Linked DNA regions of Homo sapiens: region 2 is linked to region 1. The links are contacts of gene promoters, found by promoter capture Hi-C in blood cells and fetal thymus (Javierre and others, 2016). All regions are on one chromosome and are shown on one strand. Each heading gives the region's core, a stretch centred on a gene start or on the middle of the fragment in contact. The rest is flanking DNA. Distances are from core to core; before and after follow the strand shown.

The links. Contacts are between HindIII fragments. The CHiCAGO score rates a contact against its expected background, and 5 or more counts as called.
Region 2: a contact is called between a fragment that was not itself captured here and the fragment with the promoter of TMCC2-AS1 in region 1, in 2 of 17 cell types (endothelial precursors and megakaryocytes). The highest score is 5.6, in endothelial precursors.

Annotation. Positions count from the first base shown.
Region 1 is chr1:205,233,905-205,240,910 of GRCh38, reverse strand. It overlaps TMCC2-AS1 (TMCC2 antisense RNA 1), which reads left to right and starts at 3,620. Exons shown (of 3, transcript NR_183258.1): 1 at 3,620-3,727; 2 at 3,953-4,406; 3 at 6,768-7,006. The region is part of intron 1 of TMCC2 (transmembrane and coiled-coil domain family 2); the gene reads right to left. The HindIII fragment of the contact is 7,142 bases long and covers 3,385-7,006 here.
Region 2 is chr1:204,991,167-204,998,172 of GRCh38, reverse strand. NFASC (neurofascin) reads right to left here. Exons shown (of 30, transcript NM_001005388.3): 24 at 6,867-6,881; 25 at 767-1,003. Among named protein-coding and RNA genes, the nearest start is that of CNTN2, 49 kb to the left of the region's middle. The HindIII fragment of the contact is 1,635 bases long and covers 2,015-3,649 here.

The DNA.
Region 1 (7,006 bases), core at 2,371-4,870:
ATTCCTGCTTCATCAGACTCCCCTTGCAGCTAGGAGTAGCCACATGACACAGTTTGGGCCAACGAAAAGCAAGGTGAGAGCTTCTGGGAGCACTTTTGCTTTCCTGATAAAGGCACTGGCCCTTCCCAAATCTTCCCATCTGGAATGGGAACGTAGTGCCTGGAGATGCAGTGGCCATTCTGCAACCACAAGATGACATGGTTGACGATGAGGGTCTGCACACAGATGGTGGAGCCCAAGGGACAGGCCTGGGAACTTGAAGGTCTATGGAGCCACCAAACCAGTTGTGAACATCTATCCTGGGATTCTTGTTGCATGAAATAAACCCATCTTTGTCTACACAACTCTAGTATGATTTTCTGTTATTTGCAACCAATTTCATTCCTGATATGGTTGGCAATGAAATAAACTTTACTTCTATGAGCAAACCTTGTGACATAGTAATGTGACCAATTCTTTAGCATACACATCAGAACAAGCTATCCAAATGAGTGTCTTTCCCCTTAGATCCAAAGCATAGAGGCACTGCAACCCGGTGCCGCCCAGGCCACAGCCTTTCCTCTTAGCCCTGTTGCTGAGATTCTCCAGCTGCTCTTCCGGCAAGACTGCTCACAGAGGGGCAGCTGGATGGCCTGCCAGGGCGAGCAACTGTGGTATAATTCCAGACAGCTGCTTCTGTCAGGGGACGGCTTATCCGGCCAGGTTGAGCCCTCTATGAGAGCTTTGGAGCTGTTGGAAGGAGGGGTGAGACTTGGAGGACCAGGAGACACCTCACATTCTGCAGCTCCTTAGAGGAAAACTCAGGGCCCAGCCATTTGGGACTCAATGAGCCATAGCAGGATTTCCTGTGAGGAACAACCCACAATCTTACCAGGCTGCCTCAGTCATTTAAAAAATGTTCCAAAAAATTACACAGACTGGATTTTCTTTTTTTTTTTCCCTAGAAACAAACTTACAGAGCAGAAAATCTAGACCATATAGAAACCAAGAAAAAGCAACCTGACATCCTCTAAATGAGCTGACCCCACTCTTAGGTTACTTTACAACTCAGCCTTGAGTTTGTGCAGATGGCTGCGCTTACAGCTGGATACAATAACTGTACTATTATGTATTTGTGTAAAATTTTAGGATTTTCATTTTTCACCTCATTTGAGTATCCCCAGAATCCTTAAAGTAGATGAGGCCCTTACATCACCCATTTTACAGACCAGATAAATTACATCATCACAACTCATCACGAACTAACGGTTTTTCATTTCAAAGGAGATTTGTATCCTGCATTATCCCATTGATTCTCCTAAATAGTAACAAAAGCAACAACGGAAACATCTCCATTTAGAGAAGAGGAAATTAAGGCTACCATGATTCCTTCTCAAGAACTGAATTCTGGGGCAGCCCTCGAGATCTTAAGTTACACAATGCCAGCTTTTCCCACAGGAGTTACCATCCCCTGGGGGCCAGCTTGAGGCAGGGTCACAAGGCTCACCTGAATCTGTGCTGGGGAGAACCAAGATGTCAACTCTGCCATGGACTTGGAACAGGCCAGATCCTGCAGCCTTCAGACCAGGGACCTGCCAGGACACCTCCCCCTTCCCCAGGCCCAAGCTGATGTGAGACCTCCCTCCAGACACTGTGATGGGGCCAGCTGGCTCTGGCATTTGCCCAGCTGCCTCTGCCAAATCGTCACATTCCATAATACGAATTGTCTTTCTAGCGTTCTATTCCAGGTCCCTTCCTCTTCTCCCCCCATTCCTAAACTGGCTTCTCCAACACTGAGGATCCACTCAGGCAGAAAGAGTTTCCCTTCTAAAGACTTCAGCAGAGGTCCTAGAGTTCTGAGGCATTTCCTCTCCCCTATCCCCGGGAGGCTGGTGGAGGTGCTGGGGAGAGCTACGGTGGCCACCGATGTCTGCCATATTGCCTTGGAGCCTAAAATCCTTGGTCAATTTACTTTTAAAATTTATACAACAGCATTTTGCAAAGTGCGTTCCGATTTATACTGTCATTATAATCTGACACTAGCCTAATCTCAGGAGCTAGGAATGTGAGATGTCACAGCATCAGTGTCTATTTTGCAGATGAAGAAACGGAGGCACAGCATAGCTAAGTGGCTCATCCAAGCCACACAGAGAAACCCCCGACTTCTAATTGAATTTACCTTCATGGGCCCATACACTGATTTCAAGACTTAAGATTTAAAGTAGATAGGGTATTTGCATGTGTCCCAGAATAGTATCAGAGGCAGGCGCCAAACAAAAATGCCTGGGTCAAGGGTTGTTAGGTCCCCTGAACTGCTGTTGTGACCTGCCCATCCCATGTTATGGGACAAGACCCTCAACTATAAAGTCTTTACTTCCCACCTCCCTGAGCTGTCCTGCAGCTGAAGGAAACCTAGGGAAAGTGACCAGGAGACCCCAGGACCTTTGTCCCAGCAGACCGAGGAATCTATTAAAGTCTGAGGCAGGCAGGAGGGAAATAACAAAAAGGAAGTCAAAGAACAAGGTGCAGAGAGAGGAGATTACTCCAAATGAAGGGGTTTTTCCTCACTGATAAGGTGCGAGGCGGGAACAGCAAAGTGACGCAAGGGCTGGGCCGCTTCTGCATGTGGGTGTCAGGGAGGAGATGGTTAAGGAGTTTTGACATAACACAGTAAGTGTTTTAAAAAAAAAAAACTCAGCACATACACATAACCAGCTACAAGTTTCAGAAGTGAGGAAAACCATGGTGACTAGCTTAAGGGAACTTAGCCGCCAACGCAGCAGAAAGCACCACCTGCTCTGACTAACAGGTTCCAGCTCCTAAAATGTCACTTGCTTTTCCACATTGACTTTTGCTTTTCCCTGGCTGCCAGAAACCATTTTGGTGGCCAAATGAAGCCATGCATTAGAGAGCTGAGATGCTTCAGAGTTAGAGGTGGCAAACAAACAGGGCTTTCATGATCTGTAAGACCGAAGCAAGAAGTGCCGTCCCCAGAACTGGCCATAAGGTAGTCAGAAAGGAGAGCCTCCCAGGGTGAGGTGCCCCGGGGAAGGAAGTGAGGGGAGTTGGCTGTCCCTCCCCTGGAACTATCTGAAAGGGCAGGAAGAGCCCCATCTCCTTGGGTGGCACTGTCCTTTCAGGAAAAAAGGGAGGACTAGATGGCTTCTGAAAGATCCTTCCTGAGAAGGCTGTGGTTTCTGAACAGTTGGGCTTCATCCGTCTTTCTCCCTGGGTGTGGGTCCCCCAAAGGGGAAGTTTGCTCCAAAATCTGCAAACACAGCTGCATGAATACAAAACTAAAATGCCTTGGGGTACAGTGTCATTGGCACCATCTGGTTAAAAATGACCAAAAGTGGTTTCTAATTTTTACAGGTACGTGTGTTCTCAACAAATCCCAGGAAAGCTTAAAGTCACACTAATCTATAGCTAATTATCCCACCTGGCAGCTGACTGCATAGCCCTTCCTCCTACCTGGGTTTGAAACTCCTTCCGCCCTACCAACAGTTTGGCTGTGAGGGTTCAGTGGGGTGACTGGGTCACCCTGAGCCTTTGCCAGCCTAGGTCGCCAACATTCCTCTATTTATAGGGTCTCTATGGAAACAGGGCCAGCATTAGAGAACTAATCACTGTAAAAACCCACAGAGTTCTACTCTTAGGATCCAAAGTGGATTGAAGAAGTCTCCAATTGCCCTTAAGAAGCTCTGGGTGGGGAGCCTGAGTGGGAGCAGGAGAGGAACCATTACCCCAGGTTTGGCGCTGATGATCACAGTGGTGTACAGTAGGCAGCTGCAACTGTTCAGGCCCACTTGGAGTTTCTACTGGAAACCCAGTGATGAAAGATTTTTGGAATCATTTATTTATTCCCCAGCCTCACAGATGAAATTTTAAAAAAAAAACTCAACTCATGGGCACACGGGCAAAAAATTCCCCCATTCTCAATTTTATTTTGATTCCTCTTTCCTTTATTGCTTAGAGAATTCAGCCTGGAGCCAAAGCAAGTGGGAAAAGGTCACCTCATCCACCATGTCTTTAGGCAGAACTGATTCAGCACACACCAACATAGAAGACTTTTATTAAAGTTCCCAGCATGGCGTGCCCTCTCTCTGCCTCTTTGCATCCTACCCATCCTTCACCACCTCGCCACTCCATAAAGCCCTCTCTGATCACACCAGTCTGCAGCGATCTCGCCCTGCTCTGAACACATAAGCGCTCATTATCTGCACCACTCATTTTGCAATTAATCGTGTACTGCCTTGTGACATCGCTTCTAGTGCTTTGTCTGACTGTTATCCAACTTCTCACCTGCTGACGGATGGAACCCTTGATGACAATATGAGTGACTGGACAGCAGGAGCTACAGCTCCTACATCTCTGTGTCCCTAACATTACCTGGCAGAGGCCTCAACACCAACATGGAAGACAGCTAGGTAAATTATTTGTTCATTTATTTTCTGAGCAGCCACTATCCAAGTCTCTACAAATCCATCTTACAAAGGTGATTTTAATCCTTAGATGACTACCTTTTCCAAAGACATAACCTTTCACAAAGATTTCAAATGCTCCAACAGCCTTTTCTTGTGTCTAACTCAGATTTCTCCTGCTGCAGTTTAAACCCTCTTCTCACTCTATTATCTTAGTAACCGCCAAGATTGAGTTGGCTTGGAAGGAGATGAACACAGACCAAGGAGCCAGAATGTATGTGATGTCTTCACAAATGGCTTAGGGAGGGCTTGGGAGGGGGCTCATGTCCTTACAGCCAGATTTGTTTTCCCTGGTGGACATCACTCAGTTAACCTGGCTGGAATAAGGAAGCCTTTAGTCATTTGGTTTAAAAATAACTGTTCTTTTTTTTTTTTTTTTTTTGAGACAGAGTCCTGCTGTGTCGCCTAGGCTGGAGTGTAATGGCGTGATCTCCGTTCACTGCAACCTTTGCCTGCCGGGTTCAAGCAAATCTCCTGCCTCAGCCTCCCGAGCAGCTAGGACTATACGGGCACACCACCATGCCTGGCTAATTTTTTGTATTTTTAGTAGAGACGGGGTTTCACCATGCTGGCCAGGCTGGTCTCGAACTCCTGACCTCGTGACCCCCCTGCCTCGGCCTCCCAAAGTGCTGGGATTACAGGCGTGAGCCACCGCGCCCAGCCAAATAACTGTTTTTCTAGCACAGTCACAAAACATACCTGTTATCCCCCAACAGCTTTGTTCTAACTTCTTACACGAAGAGAGACTTAAGTGTTTGGCTGACAAAGGTGGACCCTGTCCAGCTATGGCCTCATTCCAAAAATGTAGCATGCTAGTAGTCTATGGGGATTTCAAAGGCAGATGCCATTTCTTAAGGGAGAGATGAAAACAGAAATGAGTTCTGAGTTGGCCTTTAAGACCACCACTGAGAAGCTGCCTGAGCCCTTTTCCCCAGCTCCTGATAACCCCACACTTTGAAAACTTCAGCCCAAAATTTAGGTCCTATCAGATATTTCAACTCCTTGCTGAAGGAGATTCTTGTTAATGGGATTGGCAGTGAAGACATAATTAGATACACAAAAAGAAGCACATTCTGTAAATACTGAGCCTGCCAGACAGTTCCCACTAGAACAACTAGGGCAGCTGGGAATTAATCTAGAACTCAATATGTGGCAGGAGAACAGGGAGTTTCGTTTGCCACATGCTTTCCCATCGGTCACCAGTTCCCCCAGAGCCCACATAGAGGGCTGCTCTGAATATTACCTAGGCTGGAGGGGGTGGGGGGGAGGCAATCCTGGGCCTTCCAACCCTCTGCCTGCTTCATATAAGGTGCAAGCGGGACAAAACAGTTAACTTCAGCATTTGCACTACCCTCCATTGTTCCTGATCATTCTAGTCAAACAGGGCAAAGACCCTACAAAAGCACTTGCTACCTCACTTCCCCCATTTAGAAAGCCCCTCTTCTCTTGTTTGGTAATAAATGTCCCACCCCTTCTTTAAAATCTTGCTCTAGGCCGTGCGCAGTGGCTCACGCTTATAATCCCAGCACTTTGGGAGGCCGAGGAGAGTGGATCACCTGAGGTCAGGAGTTTCAGACCAGCCTGGCAAACATGATGAAACCCCATCTCTACTCAAAATAGAAAATTAGCCCGGTCTGGTGGTGCATGCCTATAGTCCCAGCTACTCGGGAGGTTGAGACAGGAGAACCGCTTGAACCCGGGAGGCAGAAGCTGCAGTGAGCCAAGATTGCGCCACTGCACTCCAGCCTGAGACAGAATGAGATTCCATCTCAAAAAAAAAAATCTTGCTCTAAACCCACCTCTTGCAGAACAACTTTCCTGATTAACCCCCATAAGTTTCTGATTGCACTGCATGATGCTCTAAGTACCCTTTAACTTCTATGTATTTCCATGATGGTTTTCTTAGAAGTATTTCATCCTATTTGACCTGGAGATCAGCTGGAGGTGAGGCCAAATAACTAATTTCCCATTTCCTTTTTGTTTGTTTGTTTTGTTTTTTATTTTTGAGACAGAGTCTCGCTCTGTCGCCCAGGCTGGAGTGCAGTGGCACGATCTCGGCTCACTGCAACCTCCGCCTCCCAGGTTCAAGCAATTCTCCTGCCTCAGCCTCCAGAGTAGCTGGGACTACAGGTGCCCGCCACCATGCCTGGCTAATTTTTCTGTATTTTTGGTAGAGATGGGGTTTCACTGTGTTAGCCAGGATGGTCTTGATCTCCTGACCTCATGATCCACCCATCTCGGCCTCCCAAAGTGCTAGGATTACAGGTGTGAGCCACCACGCCTGGCCTCCCATGTCCTTGTTTTTAGGTATACTTCAATTCTACCTCCTCTGATAAAACTTATCCCAGGCGTCCGGCTCCCACCTGAGATTGCAGGAATCTTCAAGCCTTAACATATCTACTGGGCCTCAAGATGCAGCAGGCCCTCAGAGAGCCATCGCAACCATCACAACACTCCTGGAGAGCCCCAGGGAACGTACATATCTTCATTCCACCTACGTTCTTATGAAGTAGCTTGTCTTCTCCTTCATTTAAAAAATGAAGAAA
Region 2 (7,006 bases), core at 1,583-4,082, 240 kb after region 1:
GGCCTGGCTGCATGATACAGGAACAGTGCATTCTCGTGGCTCAGCGTACCAGCCCTGGGATCGATTCTTACCAGGGGCTCTGAGAATGCCCGTAATTTTCCCTCCATGCCTGCATTTGAGGGCTTGGGGAATGTGAGTTTGGCATTAAGGGCCTCCTTGGCAATACAGTTTCCTGGAAGCTCTGACTTTGTAAAAGAAAAGTCTGTAAGTGTTCCTCGCGGAAGGAGAGGCAAGGAAGGGACAGGGGTTCTGGGAACAGAGCTGCCTGGCACAGCCACTCCCTGCTGCTCAGCCTCTAGGCCGGACGCAGACGTGGCCAGGGCAGGAAACTCCCTCAGGCCAGCTGTACAGTATCTGGTCCTTTTCCCCTCCTCACGCTGTCTTCCTTCTGGAGTGCTCGGCTCTGAGCTGACTGCCTGACATGTAGCTGGAGGCGGTCCTAACATCTGGAACCTGGGGGCCCTGCCCAAGGAGCTTGGCCGTCTGTTAAGGAACAGGGATCTGAAGCTAGAATTTGGGGTACTGAGTGGTGGAGGACCACCCAAGGAGTGTGTGTGTGTCAGGGCCAGGCTGGGGAGATCTGGGCCTCCAGGCTACGGGACTGAGCATCCAGTCACGGGTGAGTTTCCAAAGGAAACACAAAGGGAGGTGGTGGCAAACACCACCCCAGACCCCACCTCCTCGCTGGGGGAGCCTGTGGGTTCGTCTGGAGGCCGCTGGGGAGGCGGGCCAGGAGGGGATGGGGAGCATGGGCGATGCGCAGTACCGGATTCGTGTATCTTAGTCCCGGAGGTGGTGGTGGGAGGACTCTCCGTGGTGGTGGTGGCGGCAGCAGTGGTTGTAGTAGTTGTGGCGACGGTGGTGGTGGTGGCGATGGTGGTAGGTGCGACAGTTGGGATGATGGGGACTGTTGTGGCTTCGGTGGTGGCAGCAATGGCAGTAGCATCGGTACTGCTCACAGCGCCCGTCGCACCCACGGTAGTCGGGGGCAATGTGGGAGGAGCTGAGAGGGAAATGTAAAACAGCCGAGTCTGGTTGGTTTGGCTGTGCCCAGCCTGGACACACGGCCCCCGCGTGCAAGGCAGGCAGCCCGGTGAGGAGACGGGGCTTAGTCATCAGGAGCCTCCCCAAGCATAACGGACTGGGTCAGACGGGTCGCAGCAACAGAAGACACAACCATGGGAGAGGAAGAGAATGAAGCCCTGTGTGTGTTTCATTTTCTTCTCATGGTCTGCGTGGCTCGAAACACCCAGCATGCACCCAGCCAAGGATGCGTGAGGATGAGACGGGAAGGGGGCACGGGCTGAATCGCTCAGACCCCAGGGATGGCATGGAGCCCCAGGCCAAACACTGGCCAGATGCCACCCAGACACAGGCCCAAGCAGCACCAGTTGGGTCCAGCCCTGGAGCCCCAGCCTAGAGGTGGGCAGGCGGTGGGGCCCTGTCCAGCAGAGGCCTAGAGTGGCCTGCCATTCCCAACCAATCACTCCAAAATCACCCTTTGTCATGCCTGCATGAGCCCAAACAGCCACCCAAACCCGATGACAGAGAGGGAACAATCTCCACTCTGCGCGGGTGAGCCTTGCACGGCGTTCTGCCTGCCCTCGCCCTCCTCCGGTCTTGGCTCTCCTCGGTCATTCCCCTGCCTCTCCTCCCTCTCTTTCCCTTCTCTGCTCAGTGGTAGCCCTTCCTGCAACCACCCTAATCCAAAGTGACACTTCTTATAACTGCCTTTCTCTCTAGGAACTTTGGGTCCAGGTACCCCAGGTGCTTTCTATTCACATGAGAACATGGGAAGAGGGAGCTAATGGAATAACCCGCACTCAGCAGCACCACCTTCCCAGCCCACAGCAGACAGAGGAGTCCCAGGCAGAGTGAGGCGCATGCTGGGCTTCTTTTCTGCATAAATCTTCATGGGGCACAGAATTGTTCAGATCTGGGCTAACCCTCTCATGACACCCATCTCCCACCCAAAGCTATCCTTGGATGTTGGTCAGCTTGGGAGGGCTAAGCTTATGTATGTGACAACTTTTTCACAGGTCTTCTTTCCTGATATAGAAGGTCATGGAAAGGGCTGCCCTATCCTTACCCGCAGATCTAATATTTGCTAAAGCTGAGAGTATGAGAATGAGGCCAAGCAGAGAGAGACAAAGCCCCCTCTCCTCCTTGCACTGGATCTCCTGTGATCTGACAGCACTCCACTTTCTAGTGTTGACGCTAATGGGGCAGTAGGCAGGGACTTTAAAACACAGGCAGCTAACTCTCACTCCCAAGGAATCCTACCCAGCCTCAAATCTCTCAGGAAAATAATATCCCCGAGAAAGGGGCTAGGGCAGGGAGGGATGCCAGAGAAAGAATTGCCAGAGAGCTTTTTTTAAGGGAGAGTGAAGTGATCCTAAGCCTTCTCAGCCAGAGCCTGCCCAGCAAAAGCCCTTTCATTCCCTTGGGTCTCCAAAATTACAAGTCCCTCTTTGGAGAAGGAGGGAATACTCCTGCTTCCCTGCTAATAAGATCAGAGGTACTACTGTGCCCCGAGGGTGCTGGCCACCGAAGTCACACTGGGCAGCTGACTATGCCCCATACGTTCCAGAGGTTCCTGGGCAGGCTCAAAGCTCACAATGCTATACTCCCCAAACCCCGGTCAACCCACAGACATCAGGGCGGCGTGCGGAGGGGTGAGCGGTGGGGCAACTCTCCCTCTCAGATTCTTTATTTAGGGCTGTGCTCAGTCCAGGATGGCCTCAGGCCTGGAATATAATCTCAGCACTAAAAACACTCAACAAGAGGGAATTCACTTATCCCCACCCACCGACACACATACACACACACACACACACACACACACACACACACACACTGTGCACACATCATACATGGGAAAGCCTGAGAGACCCATGGGGCAAAGGTCAGTTCTCTCCCAGGCCTGCTCCCTGCAGCTCTCATGGCCATAGACACACATGGGCTCTTTCCGCTGCTCTGTGCTGCTGGCACAGACCTGGAGCAATTATTTTGTCTACTTGGGCAGGACTGCTCTGATTTTTTTTATTTTAATTGAGACGGGATCTTGCTCTGTCACCCAGGCTGGAGTGTAGTGGTGTGATCATGGCTTACTGTAGCCTCGACCTCCCAGGCTCAAGCAATCCTCCCACCTCAGCCTCCTGAGTAGCTGGGACTATAGGTCCAGCTACAGGTCCACCATGCTTGGCTAATTTGTGTATTTCTTGTAGAGATGGGGTTTTGTCATGGAACCCAGGCTGGTCTTGAACTCCCAGGCTCAAGCAATTCTCTAGCCTCAGCCTCCCAAAGTGTGCACCTGCCGGAGTTCCTTATCAATAGTATATTTTCTAATAATTTCTGACAAATCAAATGCTTACAAGGTAGCCCTTCTCATGACTATCTAAAAGGCATCATTAGAAAACACTCCCTTTGGAGGAGGTTGCAGTGAGCCGAGATCAAGCCACTGCACTCTAGCCTGGGCGACAGAGCGAGACTCTGCCTCAAGTAAACAAAACAAAACAAAAAAGCAAACACTCCCTTTTAACCTGAATCATCACACCGCGTAGTGCAGGAGCCTGGGCCTCCCTTCCTACAGGTGCAGTGGTGCTACATTTCCCAGGCCCCAGAATCCAAGTCAGTCTTCCCCAAAGCTTTACACTCTCTCATGTGGCCCTCAGACTCGCAGAGACACACACACACTCATACCCCAACAGGGCCATAGCTGGGGGCACACACTTCCCAGGATGTTCCAGTGAGTAGCTGGGGGACAGAGGTGTCAAGAGAGCCCAGGTGACAGCATTTTCCTCACCGGCCCTGCTGGGCAGAGGTAAGGATGAGAGATGGCTCTGAAGATGTTTCTACACTGCATTGTCCCCTCCCCTGATGGCCACTTCTGCCAAGTGTGGCAGAAAGGAAGCATTTTTCTCTGATGATGGCTACCTAGCTGCTTCCTGTCTGGCTCAGGCTTAGTAAGAGGGAGCAAGAGATGAGAGAGAGGAAAGGGGTCACTTTCCGGCAGCCTCCCCGGGGCTCCCACCATTGAAGTTACCATAGAGGATACAACCTCAGCTGGCTAAGGTCACTGCTGGCACATCTCCGACCCACTCATTAGCTGTGTCTATTGTCCCAAGGCAAGACAGGGCCTCCAGAGAGCTAGGGAGGGTGGAGGAAAGAAGAAAAGCCTCCGAGGGAAGGTGCAGAAGAGTCAGGCAGTGAGCTGTCAGGGGGCTAGTACAGGTGGGAACGAGAGGAGGACAAGTGTTCCATGGGGAAAACCTTCCACTGCTCAGGTCTAAGGAGATTCAGATTATTTCATCCCCTGGGGCTGAGGTGGAGGAGAGGATAGAAGAGCAACGAAGCTGAGAAGTAGGGCTTACCAACAGAGCAGCACCAGGCTGGGCAGACACATGACTGGGCTAGGATGTCATTTCCTGCCGCAATAGGAGCTACAGGTTTGGAAGCAATCCTGGCCAGTGCTCAGTGGAGACCATCAGCCTGGCGACCAAGGACAGCGGGCAGAGACTCTCTGTTAGCTAAGGGGGGATCCTGAGTGGGCTTCGGCTGGAAGCACAAGGCCCTTCCTAGATGGCAGCGTCAACCTCACAGGTTTGTGACCTAATGCACACTGGAAGGCACCCTGGCTGCGGCCAAGGGTTTTCCAGGTGGGTTTCAGGGAGCACCATGCATGAGATGGAGAACACTGAGGAGAGATGACATGTGTCATTCATCTTTCTGTCCCAGAACCTGCCACGGAACAGGGCACCTATCAAGAGCCCACCAAACATTTGCAGACCTGAGCTGGGTCAAAGAAGAGAACAGCACTTCCTTACATTCCAAGGTGGAAGGTTTAGTCCAAAAATGTCCACATGGCGTGTTGACTACCCCGGCCAAATCACAGATTGTCAGACAGACGGGCAGCAATCCTAAGAGACTACAGATACAGGTGGATGAGAGGGATTATCTTCACTGGGTGAGAGATGAACAGGGCAGTTTGGGGAAATAGTGCCCAGGTTTGGAGAGGACGAGAGGGAAGACAGCAGTGGGCCGGACGCCAGGCCCACGTCAGAAACATGGAACCCGAGTTTCGTTGCTTGGCACCTGCTCATTGTGCAGAAGGTTCTTACGCATTTAAAGCTGAGAACAGCTGATGTTATCAGCACATCTCATTTCCAAAAAAGTGCAATCTGCCTCCACTGCCATGTCACACGGAAGCTGGAGCCCAGGAAACATTTGATTGAGACCGTGAGCTCATGCTGGATGAGTGTAGATCTTTTCTAAATGGGAAGTAGGAAGTGGGGTGATTGCAAAGATACCTCTCACCCACTCAGTAGAGGGACAGCACAGGCCGGCACAGATGCCCACTGAACAAGACAGACTGCCTGCCACCAGGCCCACCTGCCTTGGGTCCCAGGGTGCCAGAACAGGGGAGGTGGACGGGGAGCTGCTTCCCCATTGAGCTTGCAGCTGATTCGCCTGGTGCCCTCCCTGCGTTTCCTCTTCGTCACGGGAGAGACTTACGTAAACTTCAAGCAGGAAGTCAGGGAGGCCCCCAGTGTGGCAAGGATGGCTCTCACCCTGTTCCCCAGGCCTGGGATCACCTCTCTGCCTCACATCTTCACAGGGGTGTTCAGACCTTGTGGGGAGGCACTGGGGTGGTGGGTGAATGTTGAGGACTGAGGGAGAGAGGGAAGGATGATGGCAGCTCACCATCCACAGATCTGGCCGCAAAACATACACAAACTGAAGGAAGCAGGGTATGCAACAGAAATAGAATCAACCTAGGATGGGGGTGGGGATGAATAAGCAAAGGCGAGGAGGAAATCGAATTGGGCAAGGTGGCATCCCCTTCATAAGCCAACCCTCAGATTCCTGGCCCGGTCCTCAGCCCTCCCTCCACTGCCTGGCATGTAAGGAGGCTCTGCTGAGCACTTGCTTGTAGCCTTTGCTCTGCCAGGGTGAATCCTGTTCTCATTTCCCATCTGATGTAATTCAGGCTCAGAGGAGGGCCTGGAAAGGAACCCTGGGGTCCCCTGCCTCGTTTCTCCAGCCTGGGGACAGGCCAACTGTGATGAAGAGCCCTTTGATGACCCTCAAACCCATGACATGAGGACTGGAGAGGAGTAACTTGATTAGCAGGTCCTAAGCCCAGAGCTGCCCAGCACCTTAGTCCACTGTAGATCTACCTCCCATACCCCGAGAGTGGAGACTGTTCTTAACGATAAAGACTTGGAAAAGCTGGGTTTCTGAAGGGTGAGGAGATAATCAGCCCACGGTGCCTGCTGAGACTCCAGGAACTGGAGCACCTGGCCCTATCCATGGACATGCTTGCTTGTTCTCACTGAGCAGAGCCCGTGGTGGCTGGCAGAGCCGGTGCCGGGCCCCCATGCAGCATGCGAAGCTGGCATGCACAGCATGTTCACCCTTTCAGGAGATGGCAGCCCCACCAGGAGCCAGCTGTCCCTGCTCCTGCTGCAGCGCGCCTTCTAGGGCCACAGCTGGGGACACTGCTCTGAGCTGTCAAGCCCAGGCAAGGACTCAGGTGGTTAACGGGAAGTAATCTACTCAGTGTCAGAATGAAACTGCAGCTCCAGAGAGCAGGTCAGGGCCGGTGTGTGTGTGACCCCTGCTGAGCCATTCTCCTACTCAGCAGGGGGCAAATAGTTTGGGAAGGGGGGAAAGTGGGCTTGCTCTCCTCTGGTCCCATCCTCCACACACATCCCTCTTGACAGTCTGGCTTCCCAACCACTGAAAGGGTGAGTCTGGAGCATGCTTTCAGCCTGAGCCTCTCCCTCCTTGTCCGCCCTGGCTGGGCTGGGCTCCGCCTGCGCTGCCCCATGCCATGCCCATTACCTCCGCGGCTGGTACGGTACCTGCGGTTGGAGTAGCTTCAGAACACAGCGCCCAAGATGGCCAGACAGAGGGAGAAAGGATGGAAAAGGGAAGAGAAAACAGAGCACAAGTGAGACCACAGGACAAGGAAAGCAGGGAAGGTTCCAGCCCAAACCTTATG